Linked DNA regions of Homo sapiens: region 1 is linked to region 2. The links are contacts of gene promoters, found by promoter capture Hi-C in blood cells and fetal thymus (Javierre and others, 2016). All regions are on one chromosome and are shown on one strand. The core of a region is centred on a gene start or on the middle of the fragment in contact, and the rest is flanking DNA. Distances in the headings are between cores, read along the strand shown. Region 1 has its middle 31 kb from the start of TCERG1. Region 2 holds the start of POU4F3 (POU class 4 homeobox 3).

The links. Contacts are between HindIII fragments. The CHiCAGO score rates a contact against its expected background, and 5 or more counts as called.
Region 1: a contact is called between a fragment that was not itself captured here and the fragment with the promoter of POU4F3 in region 2, in 1 of 17 cell types (megakaryocytes). The highest score is 5.2, in megakaryocytes.

The regions. Positions count from the first base shown.
Region 1 is chr5:146,413,212-146,418,962 of GRCh38, forward strand. No RefSeq gene overlaps it. Among named protein-coding and RNA genes, the nearest start is that of TCERG1, 31 kb to the right of the region's middle. The HindIII fragment of the contact is 1,498 bases long and covers 811-2,308 here.
Region 2 is chr5:146,336,431-146,342,506 of GRCh38, forward strand. It overlaps POU4F3 (POU class 4 homeobox 3), which reads left to right and starts at 2,409. Exons shown (of 2, transcript NM_002700.3): 1 at 2,409-2,802; 2 at 3,118-5,298. The coding sequence starts at 2,683. The coding sequence ends at 4,014. RBM27-POU4F3 (RBM27-POU4F3 readthrough) reads left to right here. Exons shown (of 20, transcript NM_001414499.1): 19 at 2,673-2,802; 20 at 3,118-5,298. The coding sequence ends at 3,128. RefSeq lists a silencer at 4,193-4,393. The HindIII fragment of the contact is 1,348 bases long and covers 1,791-3,138 here.

The DNA of each region.
Region 1 (5,751 bases), core at 310-2,809, 76 kb after region 2:
TGCCTCATAATAAATGCTTGTTCCTTACCAACTGCCATTATCATTAGCTTGCCATCATTATTCTTTTAAATCAATGTCTAAAATTCAAAATTGTATTTTCAATTCTACTTTTTACAATAGGTATAAAATCAATAACATACACAATTTTGACTTCAATTTTTATCATCTGATGAACTATCAGATGCAAGTGTGGCCTGCCCACCATCATCAGATGATGGTACATCAGAAGATAAATATTAGTTGCTCAATATGATTTTGTCCTAACATAATTTACGTAAATTAGTTACTATTAATTTAAAAATTGTATCTCTAATATCTTTTATCACATTTAATAGTATTTTGAATTCTCCATTTAAAGAAATATGATCTTTTAAAATTCAATTTTGTTTTTTTTTGAGACAGGGTCTCGAGAGCTCTGTTGCCCAGGTTGTAGTGCAGTGGCTCAGTCTCGGCTCACTGCAACCTCTGCTTCCCAGGTTCAAGCAATCCTCCTGCCTCAGCCTCCCTAGTAGCTGGGACTACAGGTGCATGCCACCATGCCCAGCTAATTTTTTTGTATTTTTAGTGGAGACGGGGTTTTGCCATGTTGGCCAGGCTGGTCTCGAGCTCCTGACCTCAGGTCTTCCGCTCGCCATGGCCTCCCAAAGTGCTGGGATTACAGGCCTGAGCCACTGCGCTGGGCCTAAAATTCATTTTTATCTATGTTATATGCTTGGCTATTTTGGCATCACATTTGAAAGTTATTTTTTCTACTAGACTAGAACATTTCCATTGTTTTCTATGAATATCGCACTGTTGCTGTTCCACACAAGCTTGCCTAAGTATGGCACATCTAATACTGTTTTCTTAAGAATATCACAGCGATATTGTATATTTGTATTTGCTTGTTTATTTGTTGAATACTGTTAATCATTTGTGTTGTTTCAGGCTTTTTTTTTTCCATTCTAGTATTTGCGTGTGCATTTTTTGGGGTCGGGGTCAAATAACATTTTGTATTCTTTTAATTGAGAACCTAAGTATTTCCAGTCACAGATTCTTTCACTGGACAAAGCTGACTGTGAAGACAGACTGAAATATGTAATAATAGTAACAAAATATTTTGTCTTTTGACTTAGAATATTAAAAAAGTTTCTACAGTTTCTCCATTGGGAAAAAAACTTACAATAATACAAAATATTAACTTTTCTGCCAAGTTTATTCAAGGAAAAATTTATAACCAATAATTTAAATCAACTTACATTTTTCTGGAAATGTTCTCAGATTTCAGAAAGCTGTGACAAACTTTTCTAGGATCACCTTCCAATAAACAGTAAAGAAGCAAAAAGTTTTTAATCTTTCTTGTCAAATTTGCCAATTTCCCCATAATTTCTTTATCATCTAATGGGCAGACCCACTTGCACTCGTTTCTTTTGAGTTGTGAATTTGATATAAAAATATCTTTTTCATTGTCTTATTTTAATCATGAAAGAAACTTCATGTAAAGAACATGAAGTTACAGGTGTTTGATCTGATCTATTCAAGTTGTGGACTTACTCAGAATACTTTTCTTATTTTCATTGTTTTGCTCAGTAACTAAATCTTCACTGAACAGGGAATTTGTAATGTTTGTTTATGAATTGTATGTGGGCCATGCTCAGGAGTTCGCAATTTAAACAAATTACAGCTGACCACCTTGGTGAATATGTTTGTTTTTCTTTTCTATCCTTATTTTTCTGAGCTTCACTTTCATATTTTGTAGGTCTAGCACAATCTTAACTTGTTCTCATTCTTGGTCAGCTAAAGAATTAAGATAAGCAGCCATAAAAAATGATGAGTTCATGTCCTTTGTAGGGACATGGATGAAGCTGGAAACCATCATTCTCAGCAAACTATCACAAGGACAAAAAACCAAACACCGCATGTTCTCACTCGTAGGTGGGAATTGAACAATGAGAACACATGGACACAGGAAGGGGAACATCACACACCGGGGTCTGTTGTGGGGTGGGGGGAGTGGGGAGGGATAGCATTAGGAGATATACCTAATGTTAAATGATGAGTTAATGGGTGCAGCACACCAACATGGCACATGTATACATAGGTAACAAACCTGCACGTTGTGCACATGTGCCCTAAAACTTAAAGTATAATTAAAAAAAAAAAAGATTTAAGATAAAATGTAATCATATTCAAAGGGTTCCAAATTCGAATATATTTCATCAAAAATGTAATTAAAGTAAATGCTAAAATACTAAAAAATTAAAAACATTTCCTATTTTGTCAAAAAAGTTATTTTTCTTCTGCTAAAATATCCAAAATTATTGATTGAAGCTTAAGGGTAAAATACAAATGGTAATTAATGAATACTAATATTTAAATAAAAATTTCAAATGAAGCTTAATTTTTACTTAGTTTTAAATTTAGTTTACTCATTACATATTTTCATAAACATTAAGTTATCCGCAATTTTTATATTCAATGTTTCATGCTTCAAGCATGCTATGTCTAGACAATGTATAAAAAATTAAAAGTAGTATTTTTTAAATTGCAAAAGATTCTTTAGCTGCTATGTGTAACTGCTGCAAACACTGCAGTAATTTGTGAGTACTTACCCACAAACTGGAACTTGAAGAAAGCAAGAAAATGGATGCTTGTTACCCCGGGATATGCTGTGTTATTTTCTAAGAATCTATAGCATTCATGACACCTGAGAAGAAAGATTTGACAAGTATATTAATTTGTCTTTTACCTAAATGCTTCCACAGCTTAAATTCTCCTTGCACACACATTCCTCAGCAGTGTCCTTTTGTGATGCTGGCAGCAGCACAACCTGTGATTCTTCACAACATTTGGGTGGTCAGCTTGTGTTTCCAGGACCGAGGAGCATTTTCCATGGCCTGAATGGTGTTAGTCACCAAAGTGATTGTTTAGGGTATCTGCAATGGTCACCTGATTTCATATATTCTTTAATACATTTGTCTTTTTATGTGTCTTTTCTAAACATGAGATCTGAGGTAGGGGTTCCTCCTTACCAGATCTAGGGCTGTCCTGAGTACAGTAAAAATAATCCAACACTACTTATATATACAACCCACACGTATAAAATAGAAATAGGTTCTCCCTACAAGTACTTGAGTAAATTACCATGTAACCAGTTTGTTGTTTATTTTTCTAGACTTTAAAAAATACTAACACACATACACACACACACACACACACACATTTTTTTTTTTTTTTTGAGACAGAGTCTCACTCTATCACCCAGGCTGGAGCGCAGTGGTGCAATCTTGGCTCACTGCAACCTCCCCATCCCGGGTTCAATCGATTCTTGTGGCTCAGCCTCCCGAGTAGCTGGGATTACAGGTGTGTGTCACCACACCTGGCTAATTTTAGTAAACACAGGGATTCACCATATTGGCCAGGCTGGACACACACATATTTTATATAAAATTTATATATAAATGAGATCATAATATGAAAACTTTGGGAAGCTTCTTTCTCCATTTAATGGTATATTATGCACTGTTTCCAGTGTTGTTACACACAATTTATTAACTTTATCTTATTCATAACTATAGATTACACTTTTTTTTTTTTTTCTGAGATGGAGTCTCACTCTGTTGCCCAGGCTGGAGTGCAGTGGTGTGATCTCAGTTCACTGCAACCTCTGTCTCCAGGGTTCAAGTGATTTTCCCGCCTCAGCCTCCCGAGTAGCTGGGATTATAGGCGTGCGCCATCATGCCTGGTTAATTTTTGTATTTTTAGTAGAGATGGGGTTTTGCCATGTTGGCAAGACTGGCCTTGAACTCCTGACCTCAGGTGATCTGCCCACCTGGGCCTCCCAAAGTGCCAGGGTTACAGGCATGAGCCATTGCGCCAGGTCTGATTACACTATTTTTTAAGCCAATTCCTTTCTGATTGGCATTTGGTTATTTTTTTTCTTTAAATTTTTGTCATAAAAATCCTACAGCAAATATCCTTGGATAGGTTACTTGGTTTTCACTATGTCTAAATTCATGACTGCATTTGGTCAATACAGCTAATTTATTTATTTATTTTTTTAATATAGGTAATTTATAAGTGTTAGAAATTAACTACACACATCTTCTATAGGATCACTTAGTCCCTGCTCCTATTTTTCATATTCTGAAAGCTTTCTTAAACATTTTTCTGGACAATCTAGAAAAAGTTCTAGATGAAAATTTTATACTAATGTGTCTTGTCTGCGATCCAAGGCAGTTTGATACATTAGTGTGTTAAGCTTTCATGCTCAGAAATGACAGAAAAATTAGAAATCTATGTTAATTAGGAATGGCAAATGGAAACTTAAGTATATATATTTATATATTTAATTATTTTTCATTTAAAATAAATATAAAATACCTTCTTTTATATTTATTTTAATGTATTATGAGATGTCAATCCCTCCTATTGTCATATATATGATCTACACGTACAATTAAGATAGATACATACATATCTTTGTATCCGTGTGTGTGTGTGTGTGTGTATACAAGCTTTGTTTGGAGCTAGAAAGCAGCGGATCCAGGATTCAAATGTGGGTGTGGCTGGTAGGTCTTGTCAACCTACCACGCCAGTAGTCTTGCCACCATATTATGCTTTGTAGTAGGTATTAGAACTTGGTGGTGGAGGGTGGGGGTGAATTCAAAGAGCATCTAGTTTTTTTCAATATAAGCAAGAATGTTTATAAACACCAAACTTATCACAGTAGTCACATTTTTAAGGAGCGGAGAGGGGTTGAGGAGAAGAGAAAAGACAATTTTGCATTTGTGTATCGCTTGACTTTTTAAAATAATGAGAATCAGTTTGCGTTGTATTGTCAAATTTTAATAATTAATGAAAAATAATCTTGTACATAGTTGGTGTCAACGGCAAATGATTCAGACACGTTTGAAAACAGTTTGGAAGTTCTTTATAAAGTTAAAGAACCCATATGACCCAGCATAAGTTACCATATGACCCAGCAATGAAATTCTTAGCTATTTACCCAAGAAAAATGAAAGCATAGCCTGCAAAAAGATGTGTACACAAATATTTAAAACAGTTTTATTCATAATCACTAAAAACTGGGAACAATCCATGTGACCATCAATAGATGATTTGATAAAGAAGTCGGGGGTACATCTGTACAATGGAGTGTAACTCAGCAATAAAATGTAACAAACTGCTGATATGTGCAACAACATGGCTGAATCAAAACAGCATTATGCTAAGTCTAACACAAAAGATTACATGTATGATTCTATGTATATGATATTCACTAAAAGGGAAAGCTAAAGGGATAGAAATCAGATCAGTGATTGCTGGGGTTGGAAGAGACCATTGACTATAAAATGGCACTAGAGATCTTTTTGGAGTGATAGAAATATTCTACATCTTTATTGTAGTTACACAACTGTAGACAACTTTTTTTTTTTTTTTTTTGAGATGGAGTCTTACTTTGTCACCCAGGCTGGAGTGCAGTGGCACAATCTCGGCTCACTGCAACCTCCACCTCCTGGGTTCAAGTGATTCTCGTGCCTCAGCCTCCCGAGTAGCTGGGATTACAGGCAGCTGCCACCACACCCAGCTAATTTTTGTATTTTTAGTAGAGACGGGGTTTTTTCATGTTGGCCAGGCTGGTTTCGAACTCCTGACCTCAGGTGATTCACCCACCTCAGCCTCCCAAAGTGCTGAGATTACAGGCATGAGCCACTGCACCAGGCCAACTGTAGATATTTGTTAAAACTCACTAAACTCTATATCTAAAAG
Region 2 (6,076 bases), core at 1,159-3,658:
AAATACTGCATTCAGCTCTGGGGAGTTGAGTGTCTCTGGAGATAAATTCCTGACATGCTCAAAGTATGTTTCATTCAAATTAACCAGAATGATAGTCTTGTTAAAGCTGGAAGTCTTGTTAAAGCTTAGCAATCATCTTATACAGCCCACTCCTTGTAGGTAAACTGAGGTCCAGTCAGGGTCACCCATACTCCGTGTCAGAATGCAGCCCCAAATCCAGCCCTCCTGCAGCCCATAGTTCTGATGTGTATTCTGCACTTCTAGAATCCTGCCACCCTTATGCTCTGTGTCTTGTTCATGAATCTACCTCCCTTCTACTGCTTGGCAAGTTTAGAGTTAACTTTCTGAAGTGAATATTAGACTGGTGACTCCTTGAGTGCCAGGATGGATTCTGATTCACATCTGTGTCCCAGCCTTTGGCATGGGGTCTGGCACAATGCAGATGTTGGGTGAATGGAGAGCAAGGATCCACAGTATGCACGTGCAGACAAACCGGGTTCCAGGAGGATGACTTGGCCCACCCCCACTCTCACATGCTTTCTCTTTAAGTTGAGGAAGAAGAGAGGAACATGTATTCAATGATATCAATGCGCCAGGCACTGTGCCATGTGCTTATCCCAGTGCATTCCTCACAACAATCAATGGGAAATAAATGATCACCCCCATTTTACAGATGGGGACACCGCAGTACAGAGAAGTTGAGAATATCTCGTGGTCTCAGCCAGCAAGAGGCAGAGGCGCATTTTGAATCTGAGGCCAGGGCCTGAGCGCTATGGCACCAGGTTGTGAGGGAGTTTACTGAGCACCAATTTCGTGGCTCAATGCTTTTCTTCTTACCCTAACTCTGAACGTCTTCACCAGAATCCAAGGAGGCAGACAGTAGTGCAATTCCATTTAAGAGCCGCCGAAACCGAGGCTCAGAGGGCTTTAGCGAAAGGGTTGCGCTTGGCTCTAGGCACCTGGGCTGAGTCTTTTTCCCACCATCGCAGGGCGGGAACCAGCGGAGGGGGCTGGCTCGGATGGGGAGAAAAGCAACTGGAGGGCGCCGAGGGGAAGAGGGAGCCCGGATCTGTCAGGGCGTCCTCTTGGACTAAGGGATGTTCCCCTAAACCACACCACCCCACCTCGTTCAGATTCTGGGAAACCCGGCACGCACATACCCTGCACAATAACAGGCAGGGTGAGGTCTCTAAGCCCCGAAGATCGCTCTCTCAGCGGAGGCAGTGGCCCTGACGAGGGGGTACAGCTGCACGCGCGGGGTTTCTCTCCGAACCGGAGTGCAGCGTAGTCGAGGTCCAGGATTCCCCATCCATTATTCACGATGTTTACTAGAGCGGGGCAAGGGAGAGGAAAGAAGAGGGAAGTAGAGAGAAAAAGAGGCTAGGGGAGGTGGAGGCGGGCAGTGCTAACCTCGAGAGCCCTCAAGTTCCGAAACTTTGAGAAGGAAGACCAAGAGGCTAAGGCGCCTGGGAAGCAGCAGGCCGTCAGTAAATATTTGTAAGATGGATGGATAACTGGGTGAGTGAGTGAATGGGCTAATCATTAGCCCCTCTGATCCTTGTTTTCCTCATCTGTAAAACGGGATAACATCACCTACTCCATACGGTGGGTATGAGAATCCCATGGGCAAACTCTAAATTGTCTAGCACATATTAGGAACTCTTAAACGGTAGCTGTTGTCACGAGGAATGGGCTTGCAAGCTCTGGCTGCCCAGCAGAAATGCACTGAAGGACTCCCAGGCCTGGAGGGCCATCCTGAACAGTCGCTATTCTAAAAAAAATACTCCACAAGCTTCCTTAGACGGGAGGGTTGGAGGAAGAGTGGGCCAAGTTACATCCCTCAAATGAAAGAAAGAAAGGCAAGCGTGGGGAGGAAGCCACCCCGGACTGAGAAGGCAGTTACTGCCCCTACCTCTACCCCGGAGCGCGGTTGAGGGAGGTGGGGCAGGGGTCACCTGGGCCTCGTTCTGGCAGCCCCTCACCCTCTCCAGGGCCCGTCTGGGCGCTTGGAGGCGCCTCCTCGCTGCGCCGCGGGACCGGACTCTGGTGGACAGCTTGGGCGTGAGGCCAGGAGCGCCCTGGAAATGGGCAGTTTGGCGGCAGCCGGGCCGACGGAGTGTGTGTGTGTGTGTGTGTGTGTGTGTGTGTGTGTGTGTGTGGTGGAGAGGGGAAGTTGGAGTAGGGTCAACTTCCTGCCCCAGCTCAGCCCAGGGCTACCCTTTTATCCAGGCAGTTCGAGCTGGGACAGGACGGAGAGGTTGGGACTTTTGGGGTGGCATGGGGGAAGGGAAGTCCACGAAGAAGAAAGAATCGGAAAGGTCTGGCGGGTTGGAGCCAGCGGGGCGGGGCGGACTGGGAGAGGCCAGGCCAGGCCCGGGTATAAAGGCTGTGGAGGGGGCGGCCGCCGCGGGCGCAGAAAGGCGCGCCGCTAGCTGCTGTCTCTCCTCACCTCCCGGGCCGCCCCTGCGAGTCCCCGGCGCGTGAGCACGCCTGCGCGCGCCCGGGCCCTTCCTGGCAGGCTGCTTGTAAGATGAGTGAAGAAGCAGGTGGGGGAGAGGGGAGGCAGCGAGCGAGAGGGCGAGGGGAGCGCGGGCGCTGAGCAGCGCTCACTTGGAGAGCGGCAAGCAAGCTAGACAAGCCTGATTCCATGTCACCCGCTGCCACCCTGCCAGGAGCGCGAAGATGATGGCCATGAACTCCAAGCAGCCTTTCGGCATGCACCCGGTGCTGCAAGAACCCAAATTCTCCAGTCTGCACTCTGGCTCCGAGGCCATGCGCCGAGTCTGTCTCCCAGCCCCGCAGGTACGTAGTGGAGCATAATTACCGCTCTAAGGCACATTTTTTGACAGGCACTAGCTTCATGTTTTTTTCATGTCGCCCAGAACAATCGCCGCTGTCTGAACCCCTCTCCTTGTCTCCCCCGCGTTCTCTCCCGGCGCGCTCTCTCTCTCATTCATGTCTCTGATCCACACGTCTGTTCCAGCAGAGCCGCTGCCTCCGTATTAATTTTTATGACCTGGGCTTTGAGGAGAGGCATCTCGGTTGCTTGAAAATGTGTTTTAATCCTGTGTTGACAGTATTCCCTACTGACCGTGCTGTGCGCCTTCTCGCTTGCAGCTGCAGGGTAATATATTTGGAAGCTTTGATGAGAGCCTGCTGGCACGCGCCGAAGCTCTGGCGGCGGTGGATATCGTCTCCCACGGCAAGAACCATCCGTTCAAGCCCGACGCCACCTACCATACCATGAGCAGCGTGCCCTGCACGTCCACTTCGTCCACCGTGCCCATCTCCCACCCAGCTGCGCTCACCTCACACCCTCACCACGCCGTGCACCAGGGCCTCGAAGGCGACCTGCTGGAGCACATCTCGCCCACGCTGAGTGTGAGCGGCCTGGGCGCTCCGGAACACTCGGTGATGCCCGCACAGATCCATCCACACCACCTGGGCGCCATGGGCCACCTGCACCAGGCCATGGGCATGAGTCACCCGCACACCGTGGCCCCTCATAGCGCCATGCCTGCATGCCTCAGCGACGTGGAGTCAGACCCGCGCGAGCTGGAAGCCTTCGCCGAGCGCTTCAAGCAGCGGCGCATCAAGCTGGGGGTGACCCAGGCGGACGTGGGCGCGGCTCTGGCTAATCTCAAGATCCCCGGCGTGGGCTCGCTGAGCCAAAGCACCATCTGCAGGTTCGAGTCTCTCACTCTCTCGCACAACAACATGATCGCTCTCAAGCCGGTGCTCCAGGCCTGGTTGGAGGAGGCCGAGGCCGCCTACCGAGAGAAGAACAGCAAGCCAGAGCTCTTCAACGGCAGCGAACGGAAGCGCAAACGCACGTCCATCGCGGCGCCGGAGAAGCGTTCACTCGAGGCCTATTTCGCTATCCAGCCACGTCCTTCATCTGAGAAGATCGCGGCCATCGCTGAGAAACTGGACCTTAAAAAGAACGTGGTGAGAGTCTGGTTCTGCAACCAGAGACAGAAACAGAAACGAATGAAGTATTCGGCTGTCCACTGATTGCGGCAGGGCGCAGCGTCGGGAGCCGGGAGAGCCTAGTGCTCATCCCTCCCGGGTTCGGGGGATGGTTATCGGGAACTCCAAGGCGTTTCCTAGGCAGGTTAGGCTCTCTCCTCCGAAGCCACAGACTTTCCCCCTTTGTCCCGCCTGGTTGCCTCCGGCCTTCTCTCTCTTTCCTTTCTATTCCCACCAAAAAAATTTTGGCGCTGGGAAAATATTGCAGAAGGGCGGGCCTGAGTGTACTTGTGCTGTCCGTGGTGCTGAAATTTGCCCTCGCGCAGGGGCCGCACGACTTCAGAGCAGGAGCCCCAAAGCAGAGGACAGTCAATTGGCCCAACCGCCCGAAGCTAGGGTGAAAATGCCACTTTGCTAAGCGCGATTAGGCAAAGGGTGAAGGGATAAAAAGGAAGTGATCAATAATAACACAAAGTCTAGGATATCTAAGGGGGACACAAACATGCACTGGAGATTTATTAGAGTATATAAAATACATGTATGTTTCCAAAGGATAGCCTTATACTCCCTTCCTTGCCTAAATTCTATTCACCTTATCCTTTGGTTTGGCGTAAATTCTCATAAGGTAGCATGAAGATTAGGTTCAGGGAAAGTATGCAGGGAGTTGCGGGCTCCAAGTTGCCATTTTTTCGTGGTAAGTAGGGCTCCAAAACAGGTGGGCCCAGTCTGGCGACTGAAAATTCTGGGATCGCTTGGCTGTTTGTAATCAGCTGCCAGCACCAGCTCTGGCCATCTTTCACTACCTACTGGTGTTTGAGGGGTAATTACTGCTTGCTGGAGAGCGGGAGTTTGTAGTATTCATAACCGTTGAGGACTCTCTGACCCCAGCTCGCTGCTCTTGCCAGATTGCCAGCTCAGCGTGCAGTCGGCTGCTGGAAAACGACTGTAACTTCTCTGCATTATATGCAAGTCCTTTCAACACGTCTAACCTCCTTGCACTTTTGTTATTACTGTTGTTGTTAACATCGTTCATTACTATTATTTATTTAATTCTGCTTCTTTCCATTCCCTTTATGTGGGTGTCTTTCGGTGGAAGTTCACTTATAGTTTTGTGAGGGAAGAGGAGTGGGACCATGGGCCTGAACCCTTCTCACCCTGCCCCTCTAGCCCAAATTTTATTTTATTTTTTCGTTGTTTCATGTAGTTTGTGTGTTGCTGTGTGACCTTTGGTTTCATTCTCTGAATAGATACAAATAAAATATTAAGTTTTCTTTTCCCTTTACCCCTTGAATTAACTTCTAAAATAAATGCTTTATTTTTCAACCCGAATCAAAGTGGTTTTATTTTTTCTCAGAGGCTAAGGGGTACTAGCTTTGAAAAGGATTTAAAAAGGAGAACCCCAAAGGGTTGGGCTGTCAGTTTCTGCTGCCCAGCCCCCAGCCATCCCTTCTCCCCACTCCTCTTCCATGGCAGACTCACTTGGAGCTCCTCGTGGGAGACCCTGCGGCTTGTGTCTGAACTTGAGGTTTCAAGGCACTTCCTTCCATGCTTCCCTGCCTGCCATCATGAGACTCTGCTCAATTTGACTTAGCTAGTAAACTTTGAAGCCGGACTAATAGAAATTCGAGCCTCCAATGCCTCTGCTCACTGGCAGAACCATCCTGAGGCTAATTTCTTAATTTCTCTAAGCCTTCTCCAACAAGATTGCTTGTCTGCAGAATGAAGGGACCAACGCTTATTTCACAAGGTTATTGTCAGGACTAGGTGAGATTGTTTATTTAAGACGTCAACTAGTGCTTGGGTTTTGTAGGCAACAAATTATTTTAAAAGATTCAAAGGGCTTGAAAGGAGGTGAAATAATAGAGGCAAAGAGGGAGAAAAGTGTTCGCTGGGACACTCTAGTGGGACCCACTCAGAGTTCCAAATTCATCTGAAATTCTCATCCAGGTTGTTATTCACTCTGGGGTCCACCTCGGCTTCTTTGTGGGGGTACTGCTATAACTGCTGCAAAGCGCCTAGCATAGTGCCCTGTACATAGTAGGTGCTCCATAGACGCCAGCTCCCTGTTCTCTTTACGCTCCCTCTTTTTATTTGCGAGCTGTAGAAA